7 separate regions of the Homo sapiens genome follow, and all the other regions are linked to region 5. Evidence: promoter capture Hi-C in 16 types of primary human blood cells and fetal thymus (Javierre and others, 2016). All regions are on one chromosome and are shown on one strand. Each heading gives the region's core, a stretch centred on a gene start or on the middle of the fragment in contact. The rest is flanking DNA. Distances are from core to core; before and after follow the strand shown. Region 1 holds the start of KCTD14 (potassium channel tetramerization domain containing 14). Region 2 overlaps MYO7A (myosin VIIA). Region 3 overlaps MYO7A (myosin VIIA). Region 4 overlaps MYO7A (myosin VIIA). Region 5 holds the start of AQP11 (aquaporin 11). Region 6 holds the start of OMP (olfactory marker protein). Region 7 overlaps MYO7A (myosin VIIA).

Region 1 (2,700 bases), core at 54-2,553, 430 kb after region 5:
TGACCCCACTCATCCTTCAGATGAATTCCTCTGGGAGTCCTTCGGGGTGGGTTGTCTCACTGTGATCCCAGAAAGTCCTACACTACTATACTTCCACTGGCCTGGCAGTTCTTCCCTTGCAATTCCCTGTTTCTTCATTGACTGTGAGGTTCCTGGCCAAGTGCTGTGTTTCATGCCTGTAATCCCAGCACTTTGGGAGGCTGAGGTAGGAGGATTGCCTGAGCCTAAGAGTTTGAGACCAGCCTGGGTCTCACCAACATGGCGAGACCCCATCTCTATTTTAACAAACAAACAAACAAACAAAAACTCTGTGAGGCTCCTAAGGGAGGGGAATATCCTCTGATTTACAGGAGCATCTAGTATTCTGTTCAAGGCCAATCTTGCCCTACCTGGCATCATGCACAGTGCCTTACACTTCCCCAGTAATTCATTCAGGCATTTATGGAACACCTAGGGTGGTCCTGGCACTAGGCATGTGGCTTTGTCAATAGCCAACAACAATGACGTGATCATGGCCCTATTAGAGAGAGCCACGCTGCCCTGCTGCTGGATCTGCTTTCTCTTCCTCCAGGTCTTCAGGATGACTCTCAGTGCAGGAGAGAACCCGAATGTTCTGCTCCCAGAGTGCACGCAGCCTTTTCCCCATCCTCCTCCCCAACTCCCCTCACCCAAGCTGGGGACCAGGCAGGCAAGCAGAGGGATTTGGGACCCAGCCAGAGGGCAGGGGCAGGCTGAAGACCCAGCCAAGGGGCAGGGGCAGGCTGGAGAGGGCTGCAGGTGAGGGAAAGATCCTCTGGCCGAGCTGGTTGGATGGGCTTCTCCCACCGGGAGCAAGGGAGAAGGTGGGGCAGAGGAGGAGTCGTGGGCTAGGACAAGCCGGTGGGGAAGAGACAAGGGAAAGGAACTAAAGACCCAATGTAGAGGGAGGAAGCAAAAGGGCAAAGAGGAAAGGCTGGACAGAGCCAAACCAGAAAGGGACACCGAGGCGCGAAAGGAGAGTGATCCCAGCAGGAGGGACGGCAAAGATTGAAGAGAGCGACCAGCCCGAGGTGAAGGGGGACAGCGCGCCAGAAGCAGGGGGCTCGGGCGTCTGGGAGGGACGGGCAGGAGAAACTGGAAGGGAGGGAAGAGGCGGAGGGAAGAGGCGGAGGACAGAGGCGCGGGGACGCAGCTAGCCTCGCACTTACCGTTGGCCGCCTGGGCCGGGGGGACTGGGGCAGAGGGGTCTGGCTCGTCATCCTGCCCACTGGCCGCTCCACTGCGCAGCCCTGCCACATGCAGATCACTTGGGCCAGCGGAAGTGCCCCTGGCTGCCCGCCCCTAGGTGGGAACACCGAGGCTCAAGGCGGGACGGGGCTGAGCCAGGCGTGGCTTGCAGTGAGACTGGGCCAAGTGCAGAAAGAAATGGACAGTCTGTCTATTTGGGGCTTCTAAAAGTTGTTAGGCCCTGAGAAGGGCTGACTTTGGAGACCGAGAAATGGAGCAGACCCCTTAAGGACTGACCTTTTGATATAGATTAATTTCCTTCCTTTTCTTTCTTTCTTTCTTTTTTTTTTTTCAGAGACAGGGTCTCACTCTATCGCTCAGGCTGAAGTGCAGTGGCGGATCAGGCTCACTGCAACCTCAACCTCCTGGGCTCAAGTGATCCTCCCACCTCAGCCTCCCAAAGTGGTGGGATTACAGGCCTGAGCCACGGCAACTTGCCTCTTCCTATATTTTCTTTTACGCTTAAATAAATTACTTAAACATATTGCTTGAATCCCGTTATTAAAGTTGACATTAGTTAATGCCCCTCTCTGGGCCTCGGAGTTCCCAGTAGTGAAATGGGGGAGGCAGAAGGAATTGACATTGACTGACATTGACAACCAGAGACTTTCTATTCCCTACAGTCCTAGGGAGTGAAAGATCCGCAACACCCATTTTACAGATCAGAAAACTGGCGCTCTAGGAGGTAGGGTGGTGTTAAAATGTAAAGTCTGAGGATCAACAAAACTTTTTTAAGAGTATACTTGAGTAACAGGCAATTCTTGAATCGGGGAACACCAGATGGAAAGAGGTTGAGTGTTCCCATGACAATGCATCAGAGGCAAATATTTATGGGGAGAATATGGAAGCAAGATATTTTGTTGGGGACAGGCATGGTGGCTCACGCCTGTAATCCTAGCACTTTGGGAGGCCAAAGCGGACAGATCATTTGAGGTCAGAAGTTCGAGACCAGCCTGACCAAAATGGTGAAACCCCGTCTCTACTGAAAATACAAAAATTAGCTGGGTGTGATGGCATGTGCCTGTAATCCCAGATACTGTGGACGCTGAGGCAGGAGAATCGCTGGAACCCGGGAGGCAGAGATTGTAGTGAGCTAAGATTGCACCACTGAACTCCAGCCTGGGCAACAAAGATTCCCTCTCAAAAAAAAAAAAAAAAAATATATATATATATACACACACACACACACACACACACACACACACACATATATATATATATACATATATATATATAAAATTGGTTACAGTTAAAAAATCTCCTTTTTTGGTTTCCTTTGTTGAAAAGTCCACAGCTACTTAATTGTATGTTAGTTGGCTGCTTGTGGTTGGCTAATGTTAAGTTTCGTTTCTGTCTAACATTAGCATTTACCAGAAATGACTCTATTAGTCAGGGTTCTACAGAGGGACAGAACTAACGGAATAGGGTTGGACA
Region 2 (2,700 bases), core at 90-2,589, 430 kb before region 5:
ATGGTCAGGGAAGGCTTCTCCAAGAGGAGCTGTTATCTCAACAGAGCCTTGAAAAATGTGTAGGAACTGTTCAAGCAGGAAAAGGGGTCTCCAGGCAGAGGGAACAGCTCAAGTAAAGGGTTGGGGGTTTCACACGGCACTTTGTTCCACACAAGGGCTGGAGCGACACCACGAAGGGTCCAGGAGCCTGGCCTGTCCCCCGGGGGAGGGTGTGGCTGGTGCCAGTGGCTGATCACTGCCTTTCAGGGGATCTACGGGCGGCTGTTCGTGTGGATTGTGGACAAGATCAACGCAGCAATTTACAAGCCTCCCTCCCAGGATGTGAAGAACTCTCGCAGGTCCATCGGCCTCCTGGACATCTTTGGGTTTGAGAACTTTGCTGTGAACAGGTACCGCGTGGGGCTCTGCTCATGGGAATTTCCTTCCCCAATATGGAAATAAGAAATATCACGTCTCTCCCTTGCGAAGCACATTTAGTTGGCTCCTGGCACACTCTGCCAGGCTGTTCCGTCATCACGGTGGACCCTCTCCCTTTCCTTCCCATCCCCTCGTGTCCCTCACCTCCTCAAGGTCAGCTGAGCCTGGCTGGGGTTGTCAGGAGGCTGTACGCATCCTGAACACTTGGGGAGGAAACCTCTGGTCTCCAGGACCCACTGGCCACTGCCGATCTGCCCAGATCCATGCTGCAAGGCGCCTCAAAGCAGGGAGGCCAGGCCTGTGCCACGCTTGTGTTGGGGTCTCCGCCACCCTTGGGATTCTGTGCCTTTTAGGGGCCGTGTGAGGGACTGATGGGTGGTGTCACATACAGGCGGGTCCTGGAGCCCCACTTCCTGCTGGAAAGTCAGGACCTGGCAAGTCATATCAGTTCCCTTGCTGTTTGGATGTCTCAAAGCCCTCCAGCACCAAAACACCCACACTCAACATACTGGGCTGTGTCCGTGGCTCGGCCATGTCTGCAGCCAGGGCTCTGTTTCCCAAGTCTTGTCAACCCCCTTCCCACCTCCCAAGGCCACTTTTGATGTCCCTGTATGGCCCACCAGCCAGCCTCTGGGGTCTTTCTCTCCCAGGCATCTGCCTGGGGTTTGGGTGCCCACCTGCCAATCCCCAGCCCTCCCCAGGGCTTGATCATGCCAGGGAAAGAGTCCTGAAAAGCCTTAGCTCTCCTTCTGGCTCACAGAGTGACCCTAGGCAAGTCCTTTGCCCTTGCTGGGCCTCCGTGTCCTCCTCTGCACCTGGAGGGAGGTGGACTTGACAATTCCCCTCGCCTCTGAGTTTGGAGTCCATGATGGGGATAGCTTGCTAATGGCCATGCTGCAGGTGGAGGCAGAGCCAGGCCCTGAACAGCATGGTGGGGCCTGAACAACACCCTTACCCCATCCCTGTGCCCCTGCAGCTTTGAGCAGCTCTGCATCAACTTCGCCAATGAGCACCTGCAGCAGTTCTTTGTGCGGCACGTGTTCAAGCTGGAGCAGGAGGAATATGACCTGGAGAGCATTGACTGGCTGCACATCGAGTTCACTGACAACCAGGATGCCCTGGACATGATTGCCAACAAGCCCATGAACATCATCTCCCTCATCGATGAGGAGAGCAAGTTCCCCAAGGTGGGCCGGTCCTGCTGCCGCCTCCCAGGGTCTTGGGTGCGCACAGCTTCCTTCCCTGCTTTGAGCCCCGGCTTTCCTCATCTGCAAAATAGGACTAATGATACCCACCTCTCAAGTTGGCTCAGGGGCCAATTCAAGTATAGGCATCTGCCATTTGGGAATCACCTACAGTCCATGGGGTTCTGGGCCAGGCCATGAAGATCCATGCATGCAGTTGGCATGGAATGGGTACTCAGGACACAGTGTATATCTCAGAGTTGGGGAGGGGGAGAGGGGATTGCACCCATGATTTTAATCTTGGGAAATCGATTGTCTAAACTGGAATGCACTTTCAAAGTTGTGTAGTTCCAATTCATCCACTTAACAGATGGGGAAATGGGGTTCCAGAGAGCGCCTATGTGAGGTAGAAATAAAAGGAGGGGAAGCTCCTGAAGAAGAGACAGGGGGCAAAGACATGGGCAGGGAGGGGAGTGGGGCCCATGGAGGAGAGGGTGGGCTCACAGCTGCCCCTCCACTCCCCAGGGCACAGACACCACCATGTTACACAAGCTGAACTCCCAGCACAAGCTCAACGCCAACTACATCCCCCCCAAGAACAACCATGAGACCCAGTTTGGCATCAACCATTTTGCAGGCATCGTCTACTATGAGACCCAAGGTACAGAGGGCTGCCGGCTGTCTGTCACTCCCTGCCCGTGGCCCTGCCTTCCCCTGCTCCAGCCCAGGAATAAGATATCCGGAATTTTAAAGATTTTTAAAAATTGTGATTATTCATATATATATATATATGAACTTGACTAAAATGGCCAAGTGTTGGATTCAGTGGCACTAAGTACTTCACAGTGCTGTGCATCCAGTACTGCTATCTATTTCCAGGGCTTTCTCACCGCCCCAAACAGAGGCTCTGCAAGCATGGGGCAGTAACTCCTTCCCCTACCCCCGGCCCCCTGTAACCTGTGTTCTACTTTCTGTCTGTGAGTTTGACTATTCTAGGTACCTCATATAAGTGGAATCATATGCTATGGCCATACATCGTTTAACGTCATTTCTGAGAATGTGTCGTTAGGCAATTTGGTCATTGTCAATCATTGTAGAG
Region 3 (2,700 bases), core at 177-2,676, 390 kb before region 5:
TGGGTGTGGTGGCATGTGCCTGTAGTCATAGCTCTTCAGGAGGCTGAGGTAGAAGGATTACTTGAGTCCAGGAGGTGGAGGCTGCAGTGAGCCATGATTGTGCCACTGCAGTCCAGCCTGGACAAGAGTGAGACCTCCTCTCTTAAAAAAAAAAAAGAAAAGAAACAAAGAGAAAAAAGATGGCACCAGCATCTGCTTCTGATGAAGGCCCCAGGAAGCTTCCACTCATGGCAGAAGGAGAAGGGGTGCCTGCATCAGAAGGAAGGAAGAGAGCAGGGGGTGCCAGGCTCTTTTTAAACAATCAGTTCTCACAGAGACTATATAGAGTGAGAACTCACTCATTACCGTGAGCACGGCACCACACTGTTCATGAGGGACCCACTCCCATGACCCAAACACCTCACACTAGGCCACTGCCAACACTGGGAGATCAAGTTTCAACAGAGAGATTTGGAGGGGACAAATATCTAAACCATATCACAGACCATGCCCCGTGGCCTTGGCCTTGGCACTCAAGGCTGCTAGGATCTTGTTCCCATCTTTCCCCTGAAGCTAGACCAAATAGCAGAAGCCTGTGCCTTTAATCTGTAGCCTGTGGGGAACCTCTTCTCCCTCCCTTCTTCTGGCTCTTCAATACTCATCTCCTGTCAGCTCTCCAAGTTAGATCAGGGTCCTCCTCAGTGTTCCCAAAAGACCCACCATCTTCAAGTGATAACAGCAGTAACAACTACTCTGCCTGAGGCTACCGAGGCCCTGGCCAAGTGTGGGAAAGACAAAGATGAAATGGACCCCACCCTGTCCTCAGTGGGGAGGGGGGTGGGAAGAAGACAGTGACAGGCCTGTGACAGTGCAGTGAGCAGGGAAGCCCAGAGCCACAGGAGCCCAGAGGAGAGGCCCCATGCCGACTGGGGTCCAGGGAGGAAGCCCGTGTGACCAGAGCACAGGGGGCAGAGAGCTAAGCGTGATGCCAGCACAGAGGCGGGAGAAAGCTGGCCTGTCCAGGGAACTGCGAACAGCTTGGTTTGGCTGGGAACAGGCACAGTGAGGGAGGAGAGGCGAGGTGGAAGGAGTCTGGGAGGCCCGCTCACAACAGGCCCAGGAGTGTGGGGCTTCCTCCCAAGGGCAATGAGGAGCCGTGGAAGGCTTTTGAGCAGGAGAGTAGCCCACTCTGGTGATGGTCTCTGTATGGAGAGTTGTGACAAGGTGGAGGCAGAGTGGCAAGTGGGCAGACATGAGTGATAACACCTCAGTTCTTCTGTGGGAAGATGTTCCAACTCAGCCTGTCTCTGCCCCCATGGTCCCACTCACCTCTGCTCTACAGCAGGCGAGGAGTCAGGCTTCCTCAGCTTTGCCAAGGGAGACCTCATCATCCTGGACCATGACACGGGCGAGCAGGTCATGAACTCGGGCTGGGCCAACGGCATCAATGAGAGGACCAAGCAGCGTGGGGACTTCCCCACCGACAGTGTGTACGTCATGCCCACTGTCACCATGCCACCGCGGGAGATTGTGGTATGTGGCCTGGGGGTGGCAGATGGGTGGGAGGTGCCATTAGACCCCTCTTTGTCCACTTCCCACAGCTGTACAATAGGTTAACGGTCTAGTGCATCTGTGAAGATGATCTTGGGATCTTATGGGACACACATTTAAAGTTGGGGCAGTGCTCAAACCTGTGCCAGGTGGGGAGGGGCCTAGAAATGGCATCAGATGAGGAACTGCCAAGGGGTGGGGCCGGGGGTGGGGATTGGAGAGAGGTGTATCACCCGCACTGTCTGAACAGGCAGTGGGGGCACAGCTGGGAAGGGGGCCCTGCTTCTTCTGGAGCCCCCTTGAGAGCAGCTCTGAGGACTCACAGCCCAGCTTCCCTAGTGGCTCCTGAGCCAGGCTCAGTGGACGAGGCAGCTCTCATACCATGTCCCGCTGCCTTGTCCAGGCTTTCTGACTGACCCAACCTGATCAGACACCTGGGGAAGGGCCCTGAGCTCAGCACAAAGGAGGCAGCAGGGACCTCAGAGACCCCAAGGAGGAACGGGGCTCCCAGGGTCAGAATGGGGCATGGGGTCCATACCCCTGAAGAGTCTCCCAGAGTCCAGAAGGCTTCAGGGTATACCATGTTGATCCTGGTGGCCACAGGTAGAGAGCTGACCTGAGCCCCCTGTCTCTTGGTCCCTAGGCCCTGGTCACCATGACTCCCGATCAGAGGCAGGACGTTGTCCGGCTCTTGCAGCTGCGAACGGCGGAGCCCGAGGTGCGTGCCAAGCCCTACACGCTGGAGGAGTTTTCCTATGACTACTTCAGGTGATGCCTCCTGGGGAAGGATGGGAGCCACAGGGCTAGGAGCTGCAGGCTTCCGCTACTGTCTGGTCGTGTGCTGGGGCTGCTTTGTGAAGCCCCCACCTGTGAGCAGGGCCTGGGTCAGAGGGAGCTGGAGGGCTGTTTCTGTCTGCCAGGATGACCCGTCCTATGTGTCTCATCTTATCTTCCTTCCTTCAAGAGATGTCACTGCACCCACCCCAGGCTGGGCATTCGAGACTGAGTCCTGGTGGGGATGCGGGCTGGAAGCAGGCAGCTGGGATTCGGCGTGCCCAGCACTGTGATGAGGATGCTTCTGGGGCGGGGGGTGGGGGGCAGTGAGAAGCTTCCTGATGGAGGCGTTGTGCACTGAGCTCTACAGGGGGCGCAGGGTGGTGGGGGAGGCTG
Region 4 (2,700 bases), core at 200-2,699, 450 kb before region 5:
ATTGAGTGCCTCACCCAGAGAGACACAGCGTTAGTGGTGGAGCTGGGACTATAAGCCAGATCTCCTATGTGTTCACTGTGGATATGTGCTGGCTTTCCTGGGGGGAGGCCCCACAGGGGTTTTGGAGTACCCCTGAGAACATTCGAACAGACCCATTCTAGGAAGGCACGACTCGGGCTGGGAGCCTGCATAGCTGGCAGGGCCTGGGAAACCCTCTGCCCTGGTCATATATTTGATAGGAGAAAAGCTGGGACTTGCCCCACGTTACACAGCCACACTGAGGCATGTGTCGTGTCACAAACGAGATCTTCCATTCAAGGTGAGTACCAAGCAAGGCGCCCCATACAGTGTGTAAAGTTGTCACGGAACATGGTGTAGGAATGGGGCCAGATGCAGTGGTGGGGTGCCTGGGGCTAGCCATGGGGATGGGAGGGGGTGGTGGGGTCCTACCTGGAGCCTGGTTCCCCATTCTCACCTCCCTCCTGCCTCTCAATGAAGCTTCATCTTCTTTCATGGCTTCCTTCCTCCCTTCCTTCTCCCTCTGAGCCAGTGACTCCTGATCCACCCTGATTTTGGTCCTGGCTCTGTCCTCCAGATGCTAATAGTCCTGTCAGTCACTGATTTGATGAGTGACTGTGGCCAGGTTCCTTTCTCTCTTTGGCCCTCAGTTTCCTCGGCTGTAAAATGAGGATCCTTACAACCTGCCTGCCTTGCGATGCTTCAAGAACTTTCCCTAGGGCCACAGGAATATTCCCCTTCAGAAGTCCTAAGACCCCAGAATTCTCCCTGAAGCCTCTCCCCTGCCATCTGAAACTGTTTCCTCAAGTCTGGCCTAGAGCAAGATAGTTTGGTCACTGCCCTCTGTGACAGCCCTAAGTAAGAAGAGTTGTAGTCATGTCTGTTTGCTGTGTGGCCCCAAGAGCTTCACTCAGCCTCTCGGAATCTCCATTTCCTGCTCACATGAAGTTTTTTTTATTTTGGTTATTTTATCTTCTCCCAGGGGAAACAAACATTTTCTGTGTGCCAGGCCCTGTGCTGGGTTGAGGGATACAGGTGACTCAGAGAGACCCCTGCCTTCCAGCTGCCCTCAGCCTAAGTCTCCAGCTTGCCTTCAGGGCCCTTGAGCCATCTGGGCGGGGGAGGACTCTATCAGTGTTTCCTGTTTTGCTCAGTGAGCTGCATGTGGGACTGGGCCCAGGGAATGTCAGGAAAGAGCCCTGGATTTGGGGTTTGTCAGACCTGGGCTTCAGTCCTGGCTCTGCCACAAAACAGCTGTGTGACCTTGGGCACGTTTCTTGACCTCTTTGAGGAGAGAAATTGGAGACAGTCCCCTGGCCACATGCTGTTGCCCACAAGCGAACACGCTCCCCACCCCTTCTCTCTCACCGAGGCCCGCTCTGGGCTGGGCTCTGGGGAGCCACAGATGAGGGACTCAGACCCAGCCCCACCCTAGGGAGCTCCAGGCCAGTGGGGAAGGGGAGCAGACCCTGTGTGGGGTGGCTGTCAGGGGTAAGCCCAGGGTCAGGGAGTGCAGCTGGGGCTTGGACACAAGCAGCTGTGAGGATTATATGGGGCAGTTTACGGGATGCAGCCTGTGGAGCCCAGGCCCACAGTGAATGCTCAGTAAACAGTTCTCTTCCACGCCCAAGCCTCTCCAATTTTTCTTACTTTTTCTGGGAGGAAGTTTGGGTTTGGGACTAGCCTGACTCTATCATGTGCCAACCTCCCATTCACATGAAGAGAGGGTCCACAGGGGCAGCTGTGGCTGGAAAATAGCACATAGATGGCAGTGGTCCCATAAGACTATAATGCCATATTTTACTGTACCTTTTATGTGTATGTTTAGATATGTTTACATACACAAATACACACTATGGATTATGACTGCCTATAGTATTCAGTACAGTAGCAGGTTGTACAGGTTTGTAGTGTAGGAGCAAGAGGCTACCCCATCCAGCCTAGGTGTGTAGTGGGCTGTACCATCTAGGTTTGTGAAGTACACTCGATGACTTCATATGTTTGCATAGAACTTATCTCTGACATTAACAATGCATGACTGTAGCTGGTTCTGATGGGAACAAGAGGAGGCTGAAACAGTAATGAGTTGGTCTTGGACTCACTGAGTTCAGCCTTCACTGAGAAATGTGGAAATTGAGGCTCAGAGAGGTCAGCGACTCACCCAAGGCCGGGTAGGGCCTGAAACCCAGTCTTCTGACTCCTAGCCCAGAACAGATTCTGTCAGACCATTACCACGGTTTACTTCATTGTGAATCAGTTTTATAAGTTGTTACATTTTTTTTTACTTGATATTAAGTTATATTCTTATTAGAATGTCCCAACTCCTAGGGAGTTGGAGTACCACCCAAAAAAGAATACTTTTATTAGGATTAGAATAAAATCTAAGCTTGTATCCCAAGGCCAGCAAAGGGCCTATGTGTCCTGGACCCTGCCTACTTCTCTGAGCTCCCTCTCGCCCATCAGGTCCTACCTCCTGGCTGTTCCTTTCTGCCGCAGGGCCTTTGCATGTGCTGTTTCCTATGCTGGGATTACTGTCCCCTGCTTTTCCCTTGGCTGACTGCTTGTCACCCTTCAGGTGTCAGCTCAGCGATTCCCTCCATGGAGCGGCTCCATTGGCTACTGGGTCTAGGTTGGTTGGCTCTGTCATTCTCCACCATTGGCTTGTTTGTTTCCTTGACAGCA
Region 5 (2,700 bases), core at 123-2,622:
TCCCGAGTAGCTGGGATGACAGGCATGCGCCACCATGCCCGGCTAATTTTGTATTTTTAGTAGAGACGGGGGTTTCTCATGTTGGTCAGGCTAGTCTCGAACTCCCGACCTCCGGTGATCCGCCCGCCTCGGCCTCCCAAAGTGCTGGGATTATAGGCGTGAGCCACCGCGCCCAGCCGCGCCCGGTTTTTGTTGTTGTTTTTGTTTCTAAAAACAGCGTCTCGCTCTGTGGCCCAGGCAGGGGTGCAGTGGCGCGATCTCAGCTCACTGCAGCCTGGAACTCCTGGGGTCAAGCGGTCTTCCCACCTAAGCCTCTCCGTGCTGGGACTCCGGACGCGCTCCACCTCACGCAGCCGTATTCCTGCTTTCAAAGCAGATGGAAGAGGTGCGCCAGGACCCCCAGTTCTTGGAAACAGACCTCTCCAGTTACCTGTTGTTTCCTCTTCACGAAGAGTGCATGTAACAGTAAGACACAACTGTTTCATATTATACGTAAAGAGTTCATGCCAAAGGTTATAGACAGTCACATGCTAAAACTAGGCTACACTTTGAAGAATCACCGCTCAAGTTCTGGAAAAAAGAGGTGACTGTTGAACAACACTGTGAGGGTAATCGATGCCACTGAAATATACACTTAAATTGATTAAAGTGGCGAATTTTATCTGGCATATATTACCACCATTTTTAGAAATGTTTTTTGGCAGGTGAAGAAAAGCAAGGCTCCAGGAGGCCCTGCGCACCGGTCTACGCCCACTAACTCACCCGCCCCCTGCGCCGCGTCTCCCCTCTCAATTTCAGTCGCCCATTGATAAAAACGAGGTGGCTATGTGAGATGGCCTTCAGCGGTCTTTCCAGCTCCACGGTTTTACAGTGTGGAGCGGGGAAAGAAAAACTCTAAGGTCCTCGCTGCAAAGCAACCATCAGAGCTCCGCCGCGCCGTGCCGCTCCTCTCCGCCCCGTGGTCCGGGTGTCACCGCCCGCAGGGGCGCAAGGGCCGCAGCACGCGTGCGCAGTGGGCACCAAGAGCGCTGCGTCGACCGCGCCGCGCCGGCCCTCCGCCGCCGCGCCCGCCTACAAGGCCCTGAGGGAGACTGCGGAGGGTGAGTGCGCGGTGGGCTCGGCTGACCGTTGGCCCTGCGGCCGGCGCCCTAGGCTACCTCCCTTCGCCTCCCCGCGCCTCCCCGCGCCTCCCCGCCTCCCCGCCTCCCCGCCTCCTCGGCTCTGGTTCCAACACCCCAGCGCCAAGCCGGGGAGGCGGGGAGGACTTCTTAAGTGTGCCGCTCGGGAGCCTCCCGCTCGTCCCGCCCCGAGGGGCGTGAGGAGGGGAGGGGCTGCGGACTTCGGACTCGGGCCTGGAGACCGCCTCCTACCCAGAGCCGGAGCCCGCAACCCGCTCAGGCGGCGACGGAGCCATGTCGCCGCTGCTGGGGCTCCGGTCCGAGCTGCAGGACACCTGCACCTCGCTGGGACTGATGCTGTCGGTGGTGCTGCTCATGGGGCTGGCCCGCGTAGTCGCCCGGCAGCAGCTGCACAGGCCGGTGGCCCACGCCTTCGTCCTGGAGTTTCTAGCCACCTTCCAGCTCTGCTGCTGCACCCACGAGCTGCAACTGCTGAGCGAACAGCACCCCGCGCACCCCACCTGGACGCTGACGCTCGTCTACTTCTTCTCGCTTGTGCATGGCCTGACTCTGGTGGGCACGTCCAGCAACCCGTGCGGCGTGATGATGCAGATGATGCTGGGGGGCATGTCCCCCGAGACGGGTGCGGTGAGGCTATTGGCTCAGCTGGTTAGTGCCCTGTGCAGCAGGTACTGCACAAGCGCCTTGTGGAGCTTGGGTCTGACCCAGTATCACGTCAGCGAGAGGAGCTTCGCTTGCAAGAATCCCATCCGAGTCGACTTGCTCAAAGCGGTCATCACAGAGGCCGTCTGCTCCTTTCTCTTCCACAGCGCTCTGCTGCACTTCCAGGAAGTCCGAACCAAGCTTCGTATCCACCTGCTGGCTGCACTCATCACCTTTTTGGTCTATGCAGGTTTGTCATTCTCACCAAATACTTGGCACTTCCAGAGCCTCTATGACATGAGGCTGTAAGTTCTTTACTAAAATACATTTGAAACCGTCTATCCCGCTATGATGTAAATGCTGGTATCCCCGTTATTCTAACCATTTTGCAGCCCGTTCTTAACCAGTAGGGCCGACACGTAGAGCCTTCATGCAGTGCTGCTTTGAACACCCAGAGAAAGGAGCCACCTCTGTGCTGAAACTGAGATACTGTGAGATATTGCCAAGGGTTCAGATATCCTACAAAGGGATTGTTTTAATGGTAGAAAGGAAAGATAACTTATTAACTGCCTCTTTCTTCATGCCAAGGTGGTATAGATCGTTTCGGATACTCTTACTGAAAAATGATCCTGGCTTTACAAAGTTCCTTTCGATTTAAAGCACAAGGCACATGATTGGTTAGTATAAGAGCGGAGGGTAGAAATTTTGTAGTTCCATTTTAGTCCTATAAATGATTTAAAGTCATTTCTTATTTCCTTAATAATTCATTTTGAGTTATGAAATTTCTTATTTCCTTAATAATTCATTTTGAGTTATACATGAACTTTTAAGTGACCTATTAAGAAAAATGTTTAAATGATAACTTGCTTCAAATTAAAGATGCTTTTTAAAATATAACTCTTGAGAAATCTGTTGATTT
Region 6 (2,700 bases), core at 146-2,645, 490 kb before region 5:
CAGTTTGACATCTAGCTGTATGGTTCTCTCAAATACCCTTGGGGGAATTTCTGCCAATGACCCCCAGAACTGACCCCAGGGCTTGCAGTGTGGTTTTAACAGGACCGGGTATTCTGTCTCCCTTGGTGCCCCTCTGCTGTTCAGGTAGCCCAGGATCCCACTGATTGATTAGCCACCATCTCACAATTGACCGTGCTTGTGGTCCACTAGACCCTTCAGATTGTTTTCCGTTGTGATACCTTGGCCTTGACTCTGTCCTCTTTTCTGTGTGTGGCGTGTTGTGGCGACGGCCGCTCCCCAACTCCCATCCCCACTCTCTCCCCAACTCCGGCTCCACTCACACTCCAGTTCTTTCATTTCCCCAGTATAAAGGCTGAGCTTCTGGTTCCGCCCCGGGCCCTGGGGATATAAACATTTGCCAGATTCTTCCTCGGCCCCTGGGGGAAACTGAGGATTAATTCAGGTGGAGTAAGTGGTGGGATTTGGGTAGAAGTGAAGCCTTGTCCTGTTGTGGCCATGGTGCAGGGCTGCGGCACAGCCAGCCATCAGTGTCATCCGGGTCAGTAATGCTCAAGGCACAGTCCCTGGCCCAGCAGCATGTCACCTGGGAGGTGGTTAGGAATGCAGATTCTCAGGCCCACAGAGCCCTGATAAACCAGGAGTTCTGGGAGGGGGTCCAGCAATCTGTGTGTTAAGTCCTGAGAGTGAGTCTGATGCTCACTCAAGTCTTGAGAACCACGGGTCTGGGTGAGAGATACGGTAGCTGGGCTGAGATCCTGTCAATGGGACTGGAGGGGAAGGGTCCCGGGGTGTTTGGGAAGCAGAATCGACAGGCTTTGGTGATTGGGTGTGGAGGAGTGAGAGGGAGGCGGGCGTCAGGGGTAGCTCCAAGGTTTAACTTAGGTGACTTCAGATCTCCAATCACCAAGCCCTCTCTGGTCCTGCCTTCTCCACCTGCTCCTGCGGGTCTTGCATCTTCTCCTGTGTACCTCCAGTGAGGAGTGGTCCCCACCACCCTCCCCATCAGTGCACTTACGAAGTGCTCTCATCTTCACAAACAAGCCAGCACCCAGCCCAGCCCTGGTAGTCAGGGCGGTTGCCACAGCAATTGACATCAGCGACCTGGTCCCCAAGGAACCTGCCACCTTCCGCCTGCCTGCAGGGCCTGCATTATCGCTTCTGCGGGGACTGGAGTGGAGGCAGATGGGGACTCCCACCCCTGACACACACCCCATTTTGAGAACTGAGTGGGGCTGGGAAGAGCCAGTGGCAAAGGGAGGGGAAGAGGGAAGGGCAGAAAGTAGGTGGGGCCCCCCTTTGGTGGCCTCTTCTCTCCACGGCCCCAGGCTCCAGCCCACTTGGGTCCTTGGCGTTGGTGGCAGCAGCACTTGGGCCATGGCGGAGGACAGGCCGCAGCAGCCGCAGCTGGACATGCCGCTGGTCCTGGACCAGGGCCTGACCAGGCAGATGCGGCTACGCGTGGAGAGCCTGAAGCAGCGCGGGGAGAAGCGCCAGGATGGGGAGAAGCTGCTGCAGCCAGCGGAGTCTGTGTACCGCCTCAACTTCACCCAGCAGCAGCGGCTACAGTTCGAGCGCTGGAATGTCGTGCTGGACAAGCCGGGCAAGGTCACCATCACAGGCACCTCGCAGAACTGGACGCCTGACCTCACCAACCTCATGACACGCCAGCTGCTGGACCCCACTGCCATCTTCTGGCGCAAGGAGGACTCGGATGCCATAGATTGGAATGAGGCCGACGCCCTGGAGTTTGGGGAGCGCCTGTCGGACCTGGCCAAGATCCGCAAGGTCATGTACTTCCTCGTCACCTTTGGCGAGGGTGTGGAGCCCGCCAACCTCAAGGCCTCCGTGGTTTTTAACCAGCTCTGACAGCAGCTGCCAGCTGCTGCTCTCCTCTAGCCCACCTGTGCTCTCCCCTGCCCCTGCCACTTTCCCCCCTGTATTTTTGGGGCCATTATTCTCGCTGCTCAGCCTGTCCTCTGCTTGCCCAGAGGCCCCCTGAGTCCCACACCTTTCCTCCTCTGCTTCTCCCTGGGGCCAGCACTCCAGCTCACAGGAAGAAGATTCTGAGGCTCCATAGCCTAGAAGCTGGACTGGCTGCTGCATTGCTATAGACGATAGAGGCCTACTAGGGGCCAGTGTGCATGGACAGTGAGGCCAGGGCCATCTGCCTTCTCTCTGCTTCATTGTGGGAGAGAGAGACTGAGAAAGACCAAGAGAGACACAGAGACAGAGATTGAAAAACCCAGCATCCACTTCCTCCAGAGTCAGGGAGACAGAGATGATGGGGCGTCTCCACGGGGAGTCCAGCAAGCCGGCATTCACTGCTCCCTGGCCTTGGTGCCCTTTGCCGGAGCCTGTGTCTGGGCTGCTGGTCCCATAACACGTCGACAACCCTCAGGATATGGGGCAGGGTTGCTGCAGGGGTGGATTTGGGCAGTGGAGAGTGGCTGGCACCCTGGAGGCTGTGTAGGCCCAGCTGTGGCTCTTCTGGGCCTGACTTCAGGGTGGAGAAGTGAAGGGGGAGGTTACACAGAGATCTGTCTCTACGCACACATATCCATGAGACAGAGTGTGCTGTATTCATATGGATGTATTCTAGAGGTCTATTCCTACCCTAGGAACAAGTGCAGTTTTAGATTATCTGTTCATCATTGCTGCTGGTTCAAGGATGGCTCTTAA
Region 7 (2,736 bases), core at 10-2,509, 410 kb before region 5:
ACCAACCCATCCACCATCCATCCATCCACCCACCCACCCATCCATTCACTCATCAGTCCACCCACCCATCCACCTACCCATTCATTCCTCCATTCATCCATTCACCCACCCACTCCCACAGTTGCTCATTTGCTTATGTGTGTCTCCAAGCATTGACTTATTGGCTCACTTGCATACTTGCACACCCATCCTTCGCTCTTCCTTTATTTATTTCTACATTCAGCAGACCCCTGCTGTCTGTGCATGGTCTCTGTCCTCTATCAGGCTGAAGATGACTGTTCTCCTATAGAAGCAGCCTGCTGTGTGCAGGGGGAACAGCACTGGGCTCACTTAGGGTCAGTCAGAAGACATGGGCTCTAGTCCCAACCTATCAAGTCTCAGTTGCCTCATGTATAAACTGAGGAAGTTAGACTGTTCAAAGCTTTTGATCTTTATATTATTTTAATTACTTATTTTTTCATACATTTATTCATTCAACAAATACCTTTTGAATGTCTACCTTCATGGGCTTATGTGACAGGCCTGTGGGGCAGGCAGGGCAGGCATTATTCTACACATTGTACGGATGAGGAAGCTGAGGCACAGAAGTTATGTGCCTTGCCCAAGGTCATATAGCTAGGAAGTCACAGAGCTGGGACTCAGCGTGCCCTCCTGATCCCAAACCCACCTGTACCCTGGCTGCCTCTGGACACTGCTCACCCGCGCCACTACTGCTGTTTCAGGTCTAACTTTCTGAAGCTGAAGAACGCTGCCACACTGATCCAGAGGCACTGGCGGGGTCACAACTGTAGGAAGAACTACGGGCTGGTGAGCCTCCCCATGGGCTGCTCTTGCCCAAACAGGCCTTTGAACCCAGCCTTGCTGCCATGGCAGTGGGACTGGCCTGCACCCAGGCAGCACAGCCTGGCCTCGTTGGCCTCCTGCCACTGCCCTGGCCAGCCACTACCATTCCTCCAGACCGAAGTCTGGATCTGGCTCTTGTGGCTTCTTCCAACTGGCCAGCAATGTTTGTTGCTCTCCTTCTGGAGTGTTTTTGGGGGTTGGGAGCACTCTGGGATTATTAGAGATCTCAGACAGGGTGAGAGTGGCTGGGTCACATGGACCTCTGTGCAGCAGCTGGGCTTAGGACTTGTTGGGGCTGGATGGGAAGCAGACTGGTTGGTTGCAGCTCCTGATCTAGGATTCTCTTGGGGGCCCCAACTCAGGGAGAGTCAAGGTCACCTAAAAATATGTTGCCTGAGAGGAAACAGAACTTTCTAACGATGGGGGGGCACTAATCTGAGAGGAGACTGGGCCACGCCTTCTGGGGGTGCCTGTCTGAGAGTGGAGGCCGGTGCCATGGAAGCTCCTGCAGGCAGGGTCAGTCTGGAATGGGACAGCAGGCTCTGAGCATGGGGTGGCTGTCCTTGCAGATGCGTCTGGGCTTCCTGCGGCTGCAGGCCCTGCACCGCTCCCGGAAGCTGCACCAGCAGTACCGCCTGGCCCGCCAGCGCATCATCCAGTTCCAGGCCCGCTGCCGCGCCTATCTGGTGCGCAAGGCCTTCCGCCACCGCCTCTGGGCTGTGCTCACCGTGCAGGCCTATGCCCGGGGCATGATCGCCCGCAGGCTGCACCAACGCCTCAGGGCTGAGGTGAGGGAGCAAGTCCATAGCACCCACAGCTCTGACCCCTGGGCGAGGAGTGTCCATGCATCACCCTCAGGTGTTGGCCAGGAAGTGGGACCTATAGGGGGGACCTGCAGTTATGCCTGCTCTGAGGAGTGCACATACCTGGGACCAGACCCTCATTTCCATCCTCTCAGCCAAGGGCAGGGCTGGGACCTCAGTCACTCTTGGGAATCTCTGGGAGACCGACGCAGATCTGGCCGGGCTTTAGGATCAGTGGTGCCTCCAGCCCGCTGGGTGACCTAGAGAATTTCTTGATTACCTCACTTGTCCTATCAAAGTCATGCCCAGTTCCAGAACTCAGAGTTGGGTGGGTGGAGCTGGTGGGAATCCCTGCAACAACAGCTACACACATTTCCATGCCCTCTGGATGCCCCCTTCCCTCAGTATCTGTGGCGCCTCGAGGCTGAGAAAATGCGGCTGGCGGAGGAAGAGAAGCTTCGGAAGGAGATGAGCGCCAAGAAGGCCAAGGAGGAGGCCGAGCGCAAGCATCAGGTGAGCTGAGAGCCTCCAGGCACCTTAGGTGTCCACTTGCTGGCTTGTCCCCTCCCCGAGGCTGGCTTCTCATCTGTCACCCGGTGCTGCAGCCTTCCTTCCATCCTTCAGAATGGCCACACTAGACCCACTCAGCCAGCATTGCCTGAGCTCTCGCTGGGCACCTGGTCCTGTGCCATGCAAAAGGATGAAGGGCTGTGGTGGCTCCAGAGGAAGAGGCCCAGGCCCTCAGCAGCCCCTTTCTAGTTGTTGAGATAACACCCTGGTAAAAGCACAAGCCAGCTGACGGCACGAGGGTGCTACACTGCCCAATAGAGAGCCACCAGCCACAGTGGCAACTGAACACTTGCAGTGTGGCCTGTCCGAATGACACAGTGCTTTAAGTGTGAAATACTAGATTTTGAAGATTTGGTGGGGGAAAAATGAATATAAAATATCTCAGTATTATTTTTATAATATGGATTACATGCTAAGTTAATATTTGGGAAATATTGAGTTAAATATACTGCTAAGACTAATCCCACCTATTCCTTTTTGCTTTTTAAAACGTGGCTACTATATGGGTGGCTCACATTGT

What was found. Contacts are between HindIII fragments. The CHiCAGO score rates a contact against its expected background, and 5 or more counts as called.
Region 1: a contact is called between the fragment with the promoter of KCTD14 here and the fragment with the promoter of AQP11 in region 5, in 1 of 17 cell types (non-activated CD4 T cells). The highest score is 5.0, in non-activated CD4 T cells.
Region 2: a fragment that was not itself captured here is called in contact with the fragment with the promoter of AQP11 in region 5 in 1 of 17 cell types (M2 macrophages); the score reaches 5.6 in M2 macrophages.
Region 3: a contact is called between a fragment that was not itself captured here and the fragment with the promoter of AQP11 in region 5, in 1 of 17 cell types (M1 macrophages). The highest score is 5.4, in M1 macrophages.
Region 4: a contact is called between a fragment that was not itself captured here and the fragment with the promoter of AQP11 in region 5, in 2 of 17 cell types (M0 macrophages and endothelial precursors). The highest score is 6.4, in M0 macrophages.
Region 6: the fragment with the promoter of OMP here is called in contact with the fragment with the promoter of AQP11 in region 5 in 1 of 17 cell types (neutrophils); the score reaches 5.8 in neutrophils.
Region 7: a fragment that was not itself captured here is called in contact with the fragment with the promoter of AQP11 in region 5 in 1 of 17 cell types (neutrophils); the score reaches 6.5 in neutrophils.

What each region holds. Positions count from the first base shown.
Region 1 is chr11:78,021,973-78,024,672 of GRCh38, forward strand. It overlaps KCTD14 (potassium channel tetramerization domain containing 14), which reads right to left and starts at 1,304. Exons shown (of 2, transcript NM_023930.4): 1 at 1,188-1,304. The coding sequence starts at 1,277. All of the region lies in intron 2 of NDUFC2-KCTD14 (NDUFC2-KCTD14 readthrough), which reads right to left. LOC124902723 (a long non-coding RNA gene) reads left to right here and starts at 571. Exons shown (of 2, transcript XR_007062795.1): 1 at 571-1,049; 2 at 1,562-1,750. RefSeq lists enhancers at 93-660, 661-1,230, 1,231-1,798. The HindIII fragment of the contact is 5,224 bases long and covers 1-2,700 here.
Region 2 is chr11:77,160,727-77,163,426 of GRCh38, forward strand. It overlaps MYO7A (myosin VIIA), which reads left to right. Exons shown (of 49, transcript NM_000260.4): 12 at 247-389; 13 at 1,394-1,604; 14 at 2,127-2,262. Among named protein-coding and RNA genes, the nearest start is that of MYO7A, 34 kb to the left of the region's middle. The HindIII fragment of the contact is 5,899 bases long and covers 1-2,700 here.
Region 3 is chr11:77,200,127-77,202,826 of GRCh38, forward strand. It overlaps MYO7A (myosin VIIA), which reads left to right. Exons shown (of 49, transcript NM_000260.4): 36 at 1,322-1,512; 37 at 2,174-2,298. Among named protein-coding and RNA genes, the nearest start is that of MYO7A, 73 kb to the left of the region's middle. The HindIII fragment of the contact is 2,420 bases long and covers 217-2,636 here.
Region 4 is chr11:77,139,162-77,141,861 of GRCh38, forward strand. All of the region lies in intron 2 of MYO7A (myosin VIIA), which reads left to right. Among named protein-coding and RNA genes, the nearest start is that of MYO7A, 12 kb to the left of the region's middle. RefSeq lists an enhancer at 849-1,415. The HindIII fragment of the contact is 1,906 bases long and covers 497-2,402 here.
Region 5 is chr11:77,588,581-77,591,280 of GRCh38, forward strand. It overlaps AQP11 (aquaporin 11), which reads left to right and starts at 1,373. Exons shown (of 3, transcript NM_173039.3): 1 at 1,373-2,031. The coding sequence starts at 1,413. RefSeq lists a silencer at 720-1,349. The HindIII fragment of the contact is 3,851 bases long and covers 1-1,980 here.
Region 6 is chr11:77,101,445-77,104,144 of GRCh38, forward strand. OMP (olfactory marker protein) reads left to right here and starts at 1,396. Exons shown (of 1, transcript NM_006189.1): 1 at 1,396-1,887. The coding sequence starts at 1,396. The coding sequence ends at 1,887. All of the region lies in intron 3 of CAPN5 (calpain 5), which reads left to right. The HindIII fragment of the contact is 17,255 bases long and covers 1-2,700 here.
Region 7 is chr11:77,178,323-77,181,058 of GRCh38, forward strand. MYO7A (myosin VIIA) reads left to right here. Exons shown (of 49, transcript NM_000260.4): 20 at 723-807; 21 at 1,413-1,631; 22 at 2,052-2,159. Among named protein-coding and RNA genes, the nearest start is that of MYO7A, 51 kb to the left of the region's middle. The HindIII fragment of the contact is 1,681 bases long and covers 420-2,100 here.